3 separate regions of the Homo sapiens genome follow, and all the other regions are linked to region 1. Evidence: promoter capture Hi-C in 16 types of primary human blood cells and fetal thymus (Javierre and others, 2016). All regions are on one chromosome and are shown on one strand. Each heading gives the region's core, a stretch centred on a gene start or on the middle of the fragment in contact. The rest is flanking DNA. Distances are from core to core; before and after follow the strand shown. Region 1 holds the start of EML3 (EMAP like 3). Region 2 overlaps SCGB1A1 (secretoglobin family 1A member 1). Region 3 overlaps NXF1 (nuclear RNA export factor 1).

Evidence for each region. Contacts are between HindIII fragments. The CHiCAGO score rates a contact against its expected background, and 5 or more counts as called.
Region 2: a fragment that was not itself captured here is called in contact with the fragment with the promoter of EML3 in region 1 in 2 of 17 cell types (naive B cells and total B cells); the score reaches 6.7 in naive B cells.
Region 3: a contact is called between a fragment that was not itself captured here and the fragment with the promoter of EML3 in region 1, in 1 of 17 cell types (naive B cells). The highest score is 5.3, in naive B cells.

What each region holds. Positions count from the first base shown.
Region 1 is chr11:62,610,503-62,614,482 of GRCh38, forward strand. It overlaps EML3 (EMAP like 3), which reads right to left and starts at 2,273. Exons shown (of 22, transcript NM_153265.3): 1 at 1,934-2,273; 2 at 923-1,094; 3 at 585-842; 4 at 377-490. The coding sequence starts at 1,955. It overlaps ROM1 (retinal outer segment membrane protein 1), which reads left to right and starts at 2,755. Exons shown (of 3, transcript NM_000327.4): 1 at 2,755-3,369; 2 at 3,756-3,980. The coding sequence starts at 2,780. RefSeq lists enhancers at 798-1,356, 1,357-1,916, 2,690-2,749 and a silencer at 1,760-2,639. The HindIII fragment of the contact is 22,044 bases long and covers 1-3,980 here.
Region 2 is chr11:62,419,851-62,423,830 of GRCh38, forward strand. It overlaps SCGB1A1 (secretoglobin family 1A member 1), which reads left to right. Exons shown (of 3, transcript NM_003357.5): 2 at 2,371-2,558; 3 at 3,209-3,345. The coding sequence ends at 3,241. The region is part of intron 1 of LOC102723765 (a long non-coding RNA gene); the gene reads right to left. Among named protein-coding and RNA genes, the nearest start is that of SCGB1A1, 2.8 kb to the left of the region's middle. The HindIII fragment of the contact is 3,769 bases long and covers 133-3,901 here.
Region 3 is chr11:62,792,384-62,796,363 of GRCh38, forward strand. NXF1 (nuclear RNA export factor 1) reads right to left here. Exons shown (of 21, transcript NM_006362.5): 15 at 3,904-3,962; 16 at 3,683-3,798; 17 at 3,518-3,560; 18 at 2,552-2,624; 19 at 1,875-2,057; 20 at 258-318; 21 at 1-131. The coding sequence ends at 93. It overlaps MIR6514 (microRNA 6514), which reads right to left and starts at 388; the gene lies at 319-388. The HindIII fragment of the contact is 4,027 bases long and covers 1-3,914 here.

The DNA.
Region 1 (3,980 bases), core at 1,023-3,522:
GATCGCAGAAGGTGTGCTGTGATGTAGTGGAAAGGGTAGGGGAACTGGAGTCAGGAAGAGTTAGGTTCAAATCCTGACTCTAGCTGTGTGACCCCAGGCAAATGACTTACCCTCTCTGAGCCTGCTTCCTCACCTGTGCAATGAGCAGCATGAGACCACCTAACCCCCAAGGATGTTGTGGGGACTGACTGAGATGGAGGAGGTCGAGGGTTTAGCACAGTGCCCGGTACACAGCAGGCGCCCCAGAAGTGTTTGTTTCTTTATTCCTGTTGGGCAATCAGGTCCCCCCACCCCAACCAGGGATGTGAGGTGAGGGATATGGAAAGTCGAGAGCCTGCGCCTGGGGCGGGGTGGGTTGAGGGGAAGCCTCACCCACCTCTCTGTGCTCCCGGACCGCACTAACAGGTTGGCGGAGGAGATTGCCTTCCTGGAGAGCTTCTGCCGAGGCCGCTCTGAGGGGGATGAGGAGGAGGAAGAATTTCTTCGCGGCCTGGTGGGGGCATAGTGAAGGTCATTCCCTCCAACTGTACTCTGCAATCCTACCACCCCTCCCAGCTTCCGCCACAGGGCCACAGGACACCTACGTGTCAGCACGCTGTGGGGGCTGCAAGGGCCTGAGGATCCCCGGGGGGCCAGGGGAGCCAGCACCACTGCTGCTGCTGCCCCCTCCTTCAGATTGGGTCCCGCTAGGCTCTTCGCTGGCCCCCTGAGGGGCTGGGGGTCCATTGCTCAGGCCAGGGGGTCCAGGGGATGACTTGAGCTCCACCTCTGTCTCCGTCTGGGTGCCTCGGCTCACCAAGGAAGGGGTGCACGTGGGTGGCAGTCCTGGGGGGGCTGCAAGACTGCTGGAGAGATGTTGAATTAACCTGAAGCCCCAGAGGCCCCAAGGAGGAGGAAAAATGGGGTGTGATGACATGCATACCTGTCCCCCGGAGGAGCTGGTGTGCCAGAGCCCTGCAGGGAGGAAGGGGGCACCTGCAGCCGCAGCAGGCGAAGGGCTTCTGCCAGGGCTGCCTTTACCAGTTCCATCTCCTGCTCCTGCACCCGAAGCCGCTGGCTCAGAGACTGGAGGGCCTCCCGAGCAGGGCCGTCACCTGGGAAAAGGGCAAGAGGTACTCAGAATGTACCCATCACCTGAAGAAAGCGTAGAGGGGATTCTGTCTCCCCACAACTTTACATGTGTCCGGTAGGACTGCCCCTTTCAGGCAGCCCCAGGCTTGAATGCTCGTCCAGAGGGGAGGAGACGGTGGTAAAGGATCAAGGGCCTCCTTCTGGCAGGGCAGGCGAGAAACCTGGCAAAGCTCCCTTCCTGCTGCCGTCTCAGCCTCCGCAAAGACTGGGAGTACCATGGAGTACCGGGGGGGAAATATGGAGTACTGCCGAGGAACGTGGGAGCCACAGAGAGAGGCGCCGCACTGGTGAGGGCAGGGACCGCAGCCCTCCCCACGCGCCCCCAGCAAGCTCAGGTCTCCAGCGAAAGCTGAGTAACTGAGCCGGGGGAACACCAGGAGAGAGAACGGGGTGCGGGAATGGAGTCATACTGAGGACCCAGAGTACAAGAAAAGAGATCCAGAGTGACAGGAGAGAGTGTGAGTGGTGAGCAGAGTCACAGTGAAGGTCTCAGGGGGCAGTGGGGATCAGAAGGAAAAAGACCTGAAATACCACGAGAAGAGGCCCGGAGTAACGCAGGGGGCAGGGAAACATCGAGGGGCCCGGAGTTACGTGGGGCGTAGAATGACGCTGGGGAAGCCCGAAGTGACAGCAAGACCCAAGCAACTAGGGAGGGCGACCGGAGGAACTGTGGAGGATGCTCGGAGCCCCTGGGGCGGAGGAGCACGCGGGGACGCCTCCAGACAGCCGTCCAGCTCTGGCATAACCCGACGAGCCGGGCGCTCCGGGAAGGGGCACGCCGCCCGCCCCGCCCCGTACTCACCGGGCCCCGCGGCCCCGTCCATCCGGCCCCCGGGTTGCTCCGAGCGGCGGCGGCGGAGGAGGCGTCTAAGCCGCGGGGGCCACGGCCGGGGAGAGGGGAAGGGGAAGCACCCCGGGGCGCGCGCGAAGGGCGCCGTACCACCACCCCGAGGGGGCGCTGTCGGGCGCGGGGAAGGGGCCTGGAGGGGGCGCTGTGGGCCCGGGGCCGCAGTCTCCAGACCCCCCCGGGCCCTCGGACTCTCCCGGGGCCGCTCTCGGCTCCCGGGGGTGGGGTGGCAGGGCCGTCCGGTGCCACAGCGCCGCAGCACAAACAGGCGCCGGACGCGGAGCCGCCAGGAAGCGCGGGAGGGGGGGCGGGCCCGAGGGGGGGCCGGGCCGCTTGGTAACCCCTCCCTGTCCGGGCCTCGCCGCTCAGTACGGGGGCGGGGCTAGCCGGCTGACCCCCTGGCCTACTCCCGGCCTCCGGCTCCAGGCCCTTCCCGGATCCCCGCCCCCGGATTCCCAGGGGACGGGGAAGGGAGCGCCCGCCCCGATATCTCCGCCCCCCAGCCCCTAACCCCTCAGGGTTGAGCGGACCAACCCCACCACTTCCGCGAGGGGCAGGGGCGGGGTCACAAAACGGGCCCTCGGCCTAGGGGCGGAGTTTCTCGTAAGGGGCAAGGCCAAGGCATCTTGTATTGGGGCTGACAGGGGGGCGGGTTATTAGGGCTGAGGATGGGAGGATGCTCAGGGTATTGGGGTCAGGGTGGCATTAGCCCAGCTCAAGCCGGGCCGGGCTGACTCAGCATCCTGCCCCAGCCAGCTTCCATCCCTGACACCTCTGCATTCCCTTGGGCAGAGATGGGAGATGGCGCCGGTGTTGCCCCTGGTGCTGCCCCTGCAGCCCCGCATCCGCCTGGCACAAGGGCTCTGGCTCCTCTCCTGGCTGCTGGCGCTGGCTGGTGGCGTCATCCTCCTCTGTAGTGGGCACCTCCTGGTCCAGCTAAGGCACCTTGGCACCTTCCTGGCTCCCTCCTGTCAGTTCCCTGTCCTGCCCCAGGCTGCCCTGGCAGCGGGCGCGGTGGCTCTGGGCACAGGACTAGTGGGTGTAGGAGCCAGCCGGGCAAGTCTGAATGCAGCTCTATACCCTCCCTGGCGAGGGGTCCTGGGCCCGCTGCTGGTGGCTGGCACGGCTGGTGGGGGGGGGCTCCTGGTCGTCGGCCTCGGGCTAGCCCTGGCTTTGCCTGGGAGTCTGGATGAGGCGCTGGAGGAGGGCCTGGTGACTGCCTTGGCTCACTACAAGGACACAGAGGTGCCTGGGCACTGTCAGGCCAAAAGGCTGGTGGATGAGCTGCAACTGAGGTACCACTGCTGCGGGCGCCACGGGTACAAGGATTGGTTTGGGGTCCAGTGGGTCAGCAGCCGTTACCTGGATCCCGGTGACCGGGATGTGGCTGAGTGAGTGATTTGCGTCTCCCTTCCTCCTCCTCCTCCTCCCTGGACAGGCTCCCTCCTGCTGCCTTGAATCCCCACCTCGCTCAGAGGGGCAATAAGTAGAACATAGTGGCTGAGAGACTGGTTACAGCTCTGCCATTTATTAGCTGTGAAACCCAGGGCATGTTACCAAACCACCCTGGGCCCATTCCTTCACCTGTAAAATGGAAATAATAGTACTTATCTGATAGAGTTGTTGTGAAGATGTGAATTATGCTTGGCTGGCACATAGTACAGCAGTCAGTAAATGTTTTACTATTCTTTTTCCCTTCTGAACACCTGTGCCCTTCAGTCCCTCCCCCAGGCCTCTATCTCCAGACATCCTAACCCCTCTGTCCCTCCCTTTGCAGCCGGATCCAGAGCAATGTAGAAGGCCTATACCTGACTGATGGGGTCCCTTTCTCCTGTTGCAACCCCCACTCACCCCGGCCTTGCCTGCAAAACCGTCTTTCAGACTCCTACGCCCACCCCCTGTTCGATCCCCGACAACCCAACCAAAACCTCTGGGCCCAAGGGTGCCATGAGGTGCTGCTGGAGCACTTGCAGGACTTGGCAGGCACACTGGGTAGCATGCT
Region 2 (3,980 bases), core at 767-3,266, 190 kb before region 1:
TCCAAGATCCCCCGTCTTTGGGGAACTGGGTTATCTAACTCTGTTTTTCACTCTGCGTCAGCCTCTTCCATTCTCATCTGAAAATGCTGTTGTTATTTTTTAATAAACAAACTCCAATTAATTCACTTGGAAAGCTTCACAACACCCATGGAGATAAGTTTTATGACCCTGGGGAGTTAGAAAACCCAAACCAAGAAGCAGTAGGAACAACTATTTTGCAGAGAGGTTTATTTGTTTTTCAGAGAAAATGACATCATTTTGGACTGAAATGTGTATTAATTAGAAGATCTCAGTGCTGTCTGCGTACAGAGGTGGGTGGCTGAGCAAGATAGGACTGCAACATGTTAAGGGGTGGGTCAGAGATGCATTTGTCTATTTGTGTGCACATGCATACAATATTTAACACTTACTTCACACAATGTGCCAATCACTGTCACCCTTTCACATAATATCTCTTTTCATTCTTTTTTTTTTTTTTTTTTGAGACAGAGTCTCGCTCTGTTGCCAGGCTGGAGTGCAGTGGCGCGATCTCAGCTCACTGCAACCTCCGCCTCCCGGGTTCAAGCGATTCTCCTGCCTCAGCCTCCCAAGTAGGTGGGATTACAGGCACGCACCACTGCACCCAGCTAATTTTTGTATTTTTAGTAGAGACAGGGTTTCACCATGTTGGCCAGGATGGTCTCCATCTCTTGACCTCGTGATCCACCCACCTAGGCCTCCCAAAGTGCTGGGATTAGGCGTGAGCCACCATGCCTGGCCTCTCTTTTTATTCTTACAACAACCCTATGAAGTAGGGATATTGGGCCAGGCACGGTGGCTCACGCCTGTAATCCCAGCAATTTGGGAGGCCGAGGTGGGTAGATCACTTGAGGTCAGGAGTTCAGGACCAACCTGGCCAACATGGTGAAACCTTGTCTCTATTAAAAATACAAAAATTAGCCAGGCATGGTGGCGCATGCCTGTAGTCCCAGCTACTTGGGAGGCCGAGGCAGGAGAATCACTTGAACCTGGGAGGCAGAGGTTGCAGTCAGCCGAGATGGCATCACTGCACTCCAGCCTGGGCAATAGAGCGAGACTCCGTCTGAAAACAAATAAATAAATAAAAATAAAATTTAAATTAAATTAAAATTTAAAAAATAAAAAATAAAATGAAGTAGGGATATTGTTCCCATTTTACAGATGAGAAAACTGAGCTACAGAAACACAGAGTGACTTGCCTGGTGACACAGTAAGTTACACATCAAGGACCTAAGTTCTGGAGAGGGTCTGACTTGGAGTGGCAATTTCTAGTGAGGCCCTAGAGTCAGAGGAGGGAAGGCAAATTTGTTCAGAAGGCAGAGAATTCAAGGAAAAGGGATTTGAGACTCACTGGGAAGATGGAGGCAAGCAGTGGGTAGAAAATGGTGACTTTCCCCCATGTTCCTGGTTGTAAGGACCTGAGAAGAAAACAGAGTCTGGAAGCTCTGTGTTGAAGGGAATGAAGTGGTACAAGTGGCTGCTCTGTCCATGAGCTGAGTGTGCCACAGGGCCCGCTGTGCACATGTGCACACCTCTTCCCGGCCAGGTTCGGGGGCCCATGTTTGGCTGGTACAATCTCAATGGCTTCTTTTCTTTTCTTTTCTTTTCTTCTTTTTCTTTTCTCTTGCTTGCTTGCTTGCTTGCTTGCTTGCTTGCTTTTTGAGACAGAATCTCGCTCTGTTGCCCAGGCTGGAGTGCAGTGACGAGATCTCAGCTCACTGCAACTTCTGCTTCCTGGATTCAAGTGATTCTCCTGCCTCAGCCTCCTGAGTAGCTAGGATTACGGGTGCCCAGAACCACGCCCGGCTAATTTTTTGTATTTTTAGTAGAGACGGGGTTTCACCATGTTGGCCAGGCTGGTCTCGAACTCCTGACCTCGTGATCTGCCTGCCTCGGCCTCCCAAAGTGCTGGGATTACAGGTGTGAGCCACCGTGCCTGGCTTACAATCGCTTTTTCCTGCCAGAGCCTGAATTTGTCACATGCCCCCAGTGAAGCATGGCTCAGGGCATCTCTAACCACTGATGAGAGGCAAGTTTCTGGTGGGAAATAAAACCCTCAGTGGCCTCTTCCCAGCCTCCACACTGCATTAAAAAATCAGGCCAGCAGCTTCTATGATCAATACTCTGCCTTGATCTCCAACAGAAAGAAAAACGGCACCTTGCTCACCTCAACCCAAGAAGTCTAAGGAAGACTCGGGCAATCCACAAATCTTACACTCTAGTCCATCGATGAAAAGGCTGCTATCTCTCGCTGATGGGCCTGGCTGTTTGCATCTGGGCAGACCCAGCCAGAGGGCTAGCCAGCTTGGAAAGGGGCCTGGAGACATGTGCCTTCTCTCCTCTGTGTTGCAGCTTCTGCAGAGATCTGCCCGAGCTTTCAGCGTGTCATCGAAACCCTCCTCATGGACACACCCTCCAGTTATGAGGCTGCCATGGAACTTTTCAGCCCTGATCAAGACATGAGGGAGGCAGGGGCTCAGCTGAAGAAGCTGGTGGACACCCTCCCCCAAAAGCCCAGAGAAAGCATCATTAAGCTCATGGTAACCAGCACCTTTCACGTCACACTGGTTAGAAGTGGCTTCCCCAAGTGGGGCTGCAGGATTGCCCCAGTTTTCAGACCTGTTTCTAATCCAGAGAGGAGAGTCACAGTGCCACTGTCCCCAGGCAGGCAGCACAGTGATCTTTCTAGACATCTCCTCTTCCTTTTTTTTTTTTTTTTTTTTTGAGACAGAGTCTCGCTCTGTCGCCCAGACTAGGGTGCAATAGCACGATCTTGGCTTACTGCAACCTCCACCTCCCAGGTTCAAGCGATTCTCCGGCCTCAGCCTCTTGAGTAGCTGGGATTACAGGCACCCACCATCATGCCGAGCTAATTTCTGTATTTTTGTAGAGATGGGGTTTCACCGTGTTTGCCAGGCTGGTCTCGAACTCCTGACCTCAGGTGATCCACCCGCCTCAGCCTCCCAAAGTGCTGGCATTACAGGCGTGAGCCACCACGCCCAGCCTCCCCTTACTATTTTGTAAGAGGCTTTTGAGAAACAATCCAAGCCCTTACTACCTTAGTTCCTCCTAGAGTTGACTGCACCTCTCGGTTAATGTTGAAGTTTCTGTGGCTCGTCATCTCTGCCTAACTATGCAATTCATTCACTGTTGTATTGGGTTTTTCTGTTTCTTTGTCTATTTGTTTTAGGAAAAAATAGCCCAAAGCTCACTGTGTAATTAGCATTTAGAAGCTGAAGATCCCCAACTGCTCCAGCCTCTGCCGCTGCCATGCTTTGAGTCCACGCCCACCAGCCTTGCTCTCTTCAATAAACCACAAGCATCTCACTTTTGTGCCCCCTGCGTGGTTTTGGTCTCCTTGTTATGGTGGGGGGTCTGCCCCTGTCAGGGTAAGGTGAGCCAGGACAAAAGGAAAGCAGCCGAGCTCTGCCCTTGGATCCCAGCAGAAATCTCTGTGCTCTTCCAAAGCTCTTTTCCTCTAGGTTTCTGCCTCCAACAGAGCTCAAGCCCCCTCCCCTTATATCAGACCATCTACTCAACATCACAGACTCTACTCAACATCACAGACTCCACTTGTCCAACAGAACCAGTGATCCTGCCCCAGTCTGTTCCTATCTCAGTGAGTTCTGGCTCCATCCTCCCCGCTGGGCTGCACCAGCCTGAGGAGCATCCGCGATCCTTCCTTCTCTAGCCAACCCAGGCTACCTCTAAAGGGCCTCTGGAATCCTTCACTCCAAGTCCACAGGCAACACCCCCATCCCTGCCTGTACAGCCCCCGGGGCCTCCTCTCTGGCTCCCAGCCAGACTCCAGGGCCCCCACAATCCCTTCTCCAACAACCCAAAGGAATTCTTCTCAAGTGCAAAGTCCCTCCCCATCCTTCAAAGCTTTCTAGGGCTCTTATTGTAAAATCCTAAATCCTGACGATAGATAGTGGCCCCTCACCAGTCTTTCCTGTGCTCCT
Region 3 (3,980 bases), core at 651-3,150, 180 kb after region 1:
CGGGCCAGACAGGAGGAGATGACAGACGACAACCAGACGGTAATATCCAAGGACTATTTACAGGGGGGACTGCTTCTGAGGCATGACTACGATCACTTCATGAATGCCACTTCTGGGATCTCGCCCTTGGCCTGGAGAAAAATGAAGGTCAGTAGAGGTAGGCCTACCCTCGCCACTCAGCAACCCCACTCAGCTAACCTGACCTCCTGGAGGCCCAGAGATCCTAGTCTTTTTGCCACTGTATTTCCAGACCTTACCTTGAGATGAGTGAAGGCCTGGGCAGATCTGGTGTAGTCCCAGTTGTTGTCCTGAAGGCACCTGGAGTGGAAGAACAGGCAGCTCTGTAAGAACTCTGACTCGTAAATGCCAGCTGAAAGTCCACTCCATAAAAGCACCCAAGTTTGCCAACAAATATGTACATTCTTATACATCCTTGCACTATTTATACAAATGAGACATTAGTAAAAGTCCAGATGTTCTACCAATGGCTTCTCAAAGATAAGGAATATTAAATAGCTGTCAAGAAGCTCAAGATAGTTTTTACAGTGGTAGGGAAAGATGTTCATGGTGTAAGTAAAGAAACTAAGTTGCAGAACAGTATATGAAAAGGAACTTCCATTTTACCTTTAAAGTTTTTTATGTTAATTTATACACAGGCAAATTTTTTATAGACTATCAGGTTTGTGTTTTTCTGTTTGCTTTTTTTTTTTTTTTGAGACCGAGTCTTGCTCTGTCACCAGGCTGGAGTGCAGTGGCGTGATCTCGGCTCACTGCAACCTCCGCCTTCCAGGTTCAAGCAATTCTCCTGCCTCAGCCTCCCGAGTAGTTGGGACTACAGGCGTGGAACGCCAAGCCCCGCTAATTTTTGTATTTTTAGTAGAGACGAGATTTCACCATGTTGTCCAGGATGGTCTTGATCTCTTGACCTCGTGATCTGGCCGCCTCAGCCTCCCAAAGTGCTGGGATTACAGGTGTGAGCCACCTCTCCCAGCCAACTATTAGGTTTTTTTAAGCAGCCAAAAGTTTTGCCTTTTAAAATTTCAGGAGCCCAGGCACAGTAACTCACACCTATAACCGCAGCACTTTGGGAGGCCTAGGTGGGCAACATGGTGAAACCCCATCTCTGCAAAGAAATACAAAAAAATTAGCCAGGTGCTGTGGCCTATGCCTGTAGTCCCAGCTACTCAGGTGGCTGAGGTGGGAGAATCACCTGAGCCCTAGCAGTTGAGGCTGCAGTGAACTGTGATCACACCACTGTACTCCAGCCTGGGCATCAGAGTGAGACCCTGTCTCAAAACAAACAAGCAAATAAAAATTTGGCTGGGTGCAGTGCCTCATGCCTGTAATCCCAGCACTTTGGGAGGCCGAGGTAGGCAGATCACAAGGTCAGGAGTTCGAGACCAGCCTGGCCAACATGATGAAAGCCCGTCTCTACTAAAAAAAAAAAAAAAAAAAAAAAATACAAAAATTAGCCAGGCATGGTGGTGTGTGCCTGTAATCCCAGCTACTCGGGAGGCTGAGATTGGAGAATTGCTTGAACCCGGGAGGCAGAGGTTACAATGAGCCAAGATCGCACCACTGCACTCCAGCCTGGGCAACATAGCAAGACTCCACCTCCAAAAAAAAAAAATAATAAAATAAAATAAGGTGGCACATGCCTATAGGCCCAGCTACTCTGGAGGCTGAGGTGGGAGGACAGCTTGTGCCCAGGAATTAGAGGCTACAGTGAGTTATGATCACCACTATACTCCAGCCTGGATGACAGCGCAAGAACTTGTCTCCAAAAAAAAAACAAAAAAACTGTCAGGAGCCCTCATTATTTACTACTAGCCCTACTTCAGTGCATCCCCATCCTACACATGCCCCGCACTCACTTCTGGGACCACTCGAGGTTCATGCCAGACTGGGTAGAGAATGCTTGCAACATTTCCTGCTGCTCTGGAGAGAGGGTGGGCACCGGGCTGGAGGAAGGCGTGGGTGCAGGCATAGCGAAGGCTCTTTGGATCTCTTCAGAACTGGCATTCCGCACAAATAGCTCATCATTTACAATACATAGCCTTGAGGACAAAGAGCACTTAAAAAGCTAGACAGAGATAACATCATCCTCCCAACATCATTCCTATTCTCTGATTCTTTCAATATCCACAAGGTCCCCCTCCCACTCTTAGCTATTGTTACCTTTTATCATTTATCCCCTCCCATGGAATCAATGTTTGGAAGGATTATCTACTAAACACACTAGGGTTCTCCCAACGCATGGACTTTAGCTCTTTTAATTCATCCTCACAACAAACTTAGGAAATGAATATTGTTATATGAATTTTCAGATGAGGCAGCAGCCTACTTGCTAGAAGTGGTGGAGCCAGGATGAAAACCCAGACGGTACAATTCCAGAGCCAAGCTATTAACTGGCTCTTAACTACTATGTGAGCTTTCTCTGATTTCCTGTTGCCTTTCTGAAATCACCCCAAAGACTGACTCTACCCTCCAATTACCACACTGTTGGCCATGGATTAGGACTGGTATCCAATGCGAAAAGCAGAATACTTACCCTGAATTGCTAGCAGGAACAGCAATGAATGTCCGGGTGAAGGCTCGCAAAGAATCCCGGGACTTTCCGTCCACTGCAATAAGAACAGCAACAACACCTTAGGGTCACTAGTGCTTTATGTTTACAAACAGCTTCTTGAATCATGGTCTTTGATATAAAGAATCCTAGCAAGTCAGAGAGGAATGATTAAGTATATAAGGGTATAAGGGAAGCACAGGTGGGGTGAAGGGTCAGGTCAGAAAGGACAATAGTAATAACTACGGCCGGGCACAGTGTCTCATGCGTATAATCCCAGCACTTTGGGAGGCTGAGGTGGGCAGATCACGAGGTCAAGAGATCGAGACCATCCTGTCCAACATGGCGAAACCCCTTCTCTACTAAAAATACAAAAATTAGCTGGGCGTGGTAGTGCGCACCTGTAGTCCCAGCTACTCGGGAGGCTGAAGCAGGAGAACCACTTGAACCCAGGAGACGGAGGTTGCAGTGAGCCAAGATTGCGCCACTGCACTCCAGCCTGGTGATAGAGTGTGACTCCATCTCAAAAAAAAGTAATAACTACTAATCCACTGATAGCATCTGTATGCCAGGCCCCAGGCCAAGCACTTTGTAAGTCACTTCAGTTTACTTCCTATAGCACCACTATGAGACGGCTATTACTAACCCCATCTTACAAATAAAGAATCTGTCTTAGAGGTAATGTTACTTGTCCACAGCCCCGCACAACCAAAACTAGGATGGAAACTAAGAACTGCCTGACTCCAAAGTCCTCCTAATCCCCAGGCTTTTCCCACATCCAGACAGGACAGGTGGAGAGGTAGGCCAAGCCAAGACGGCTTGGGGGCAGAATGGGAGAAGGAGCTCAAAAAGAAAATGGGAGAGAAAGTAGCTGGGAAGCTAAGAGTGCTGAGGAAAATTCCAGCTGGGGGTGGGACCACGCTACAAACTCGGGACTCTAAAGATTCTTACCTTCCTTGAAGACTCCATTGACAGAAAAACACAGCAATGTGCTCTGAAAGAGAAGCAGCATCAGGTACAATGTACACTTCTCAGAGCCTGAGTGCCCCCCCTTGCCTATTAAATGCCACCCCCACCCCAATTCTAGGCTTCTGTCAGGCGCAAGCAGGAGCTTACTGTCTGGGCGCTTATGTCTACCACGAAGGAATTGACGTCGTGCTGGGTTTTGGGCAACTCATTGAGGAAGGCAACAACGTTGAGACGCGTGTGCTTCAGCAGCCGGAACCGCAAGGCTGTGGGTAGAGGAGAAAGCTCAGTGGTGCTGCCACACACTCCTGAGTTCTGACTGATTCCTTCCCATGCCCTTTTCCCATATTTTGTTCGTATCACACACTTACTAGGGTCTTTAAGCTTCTTCACATTTCTGCTATCCTTGAAATACTCGGCTAAGCTGCTTCTGGGGGAATAAAAGGAA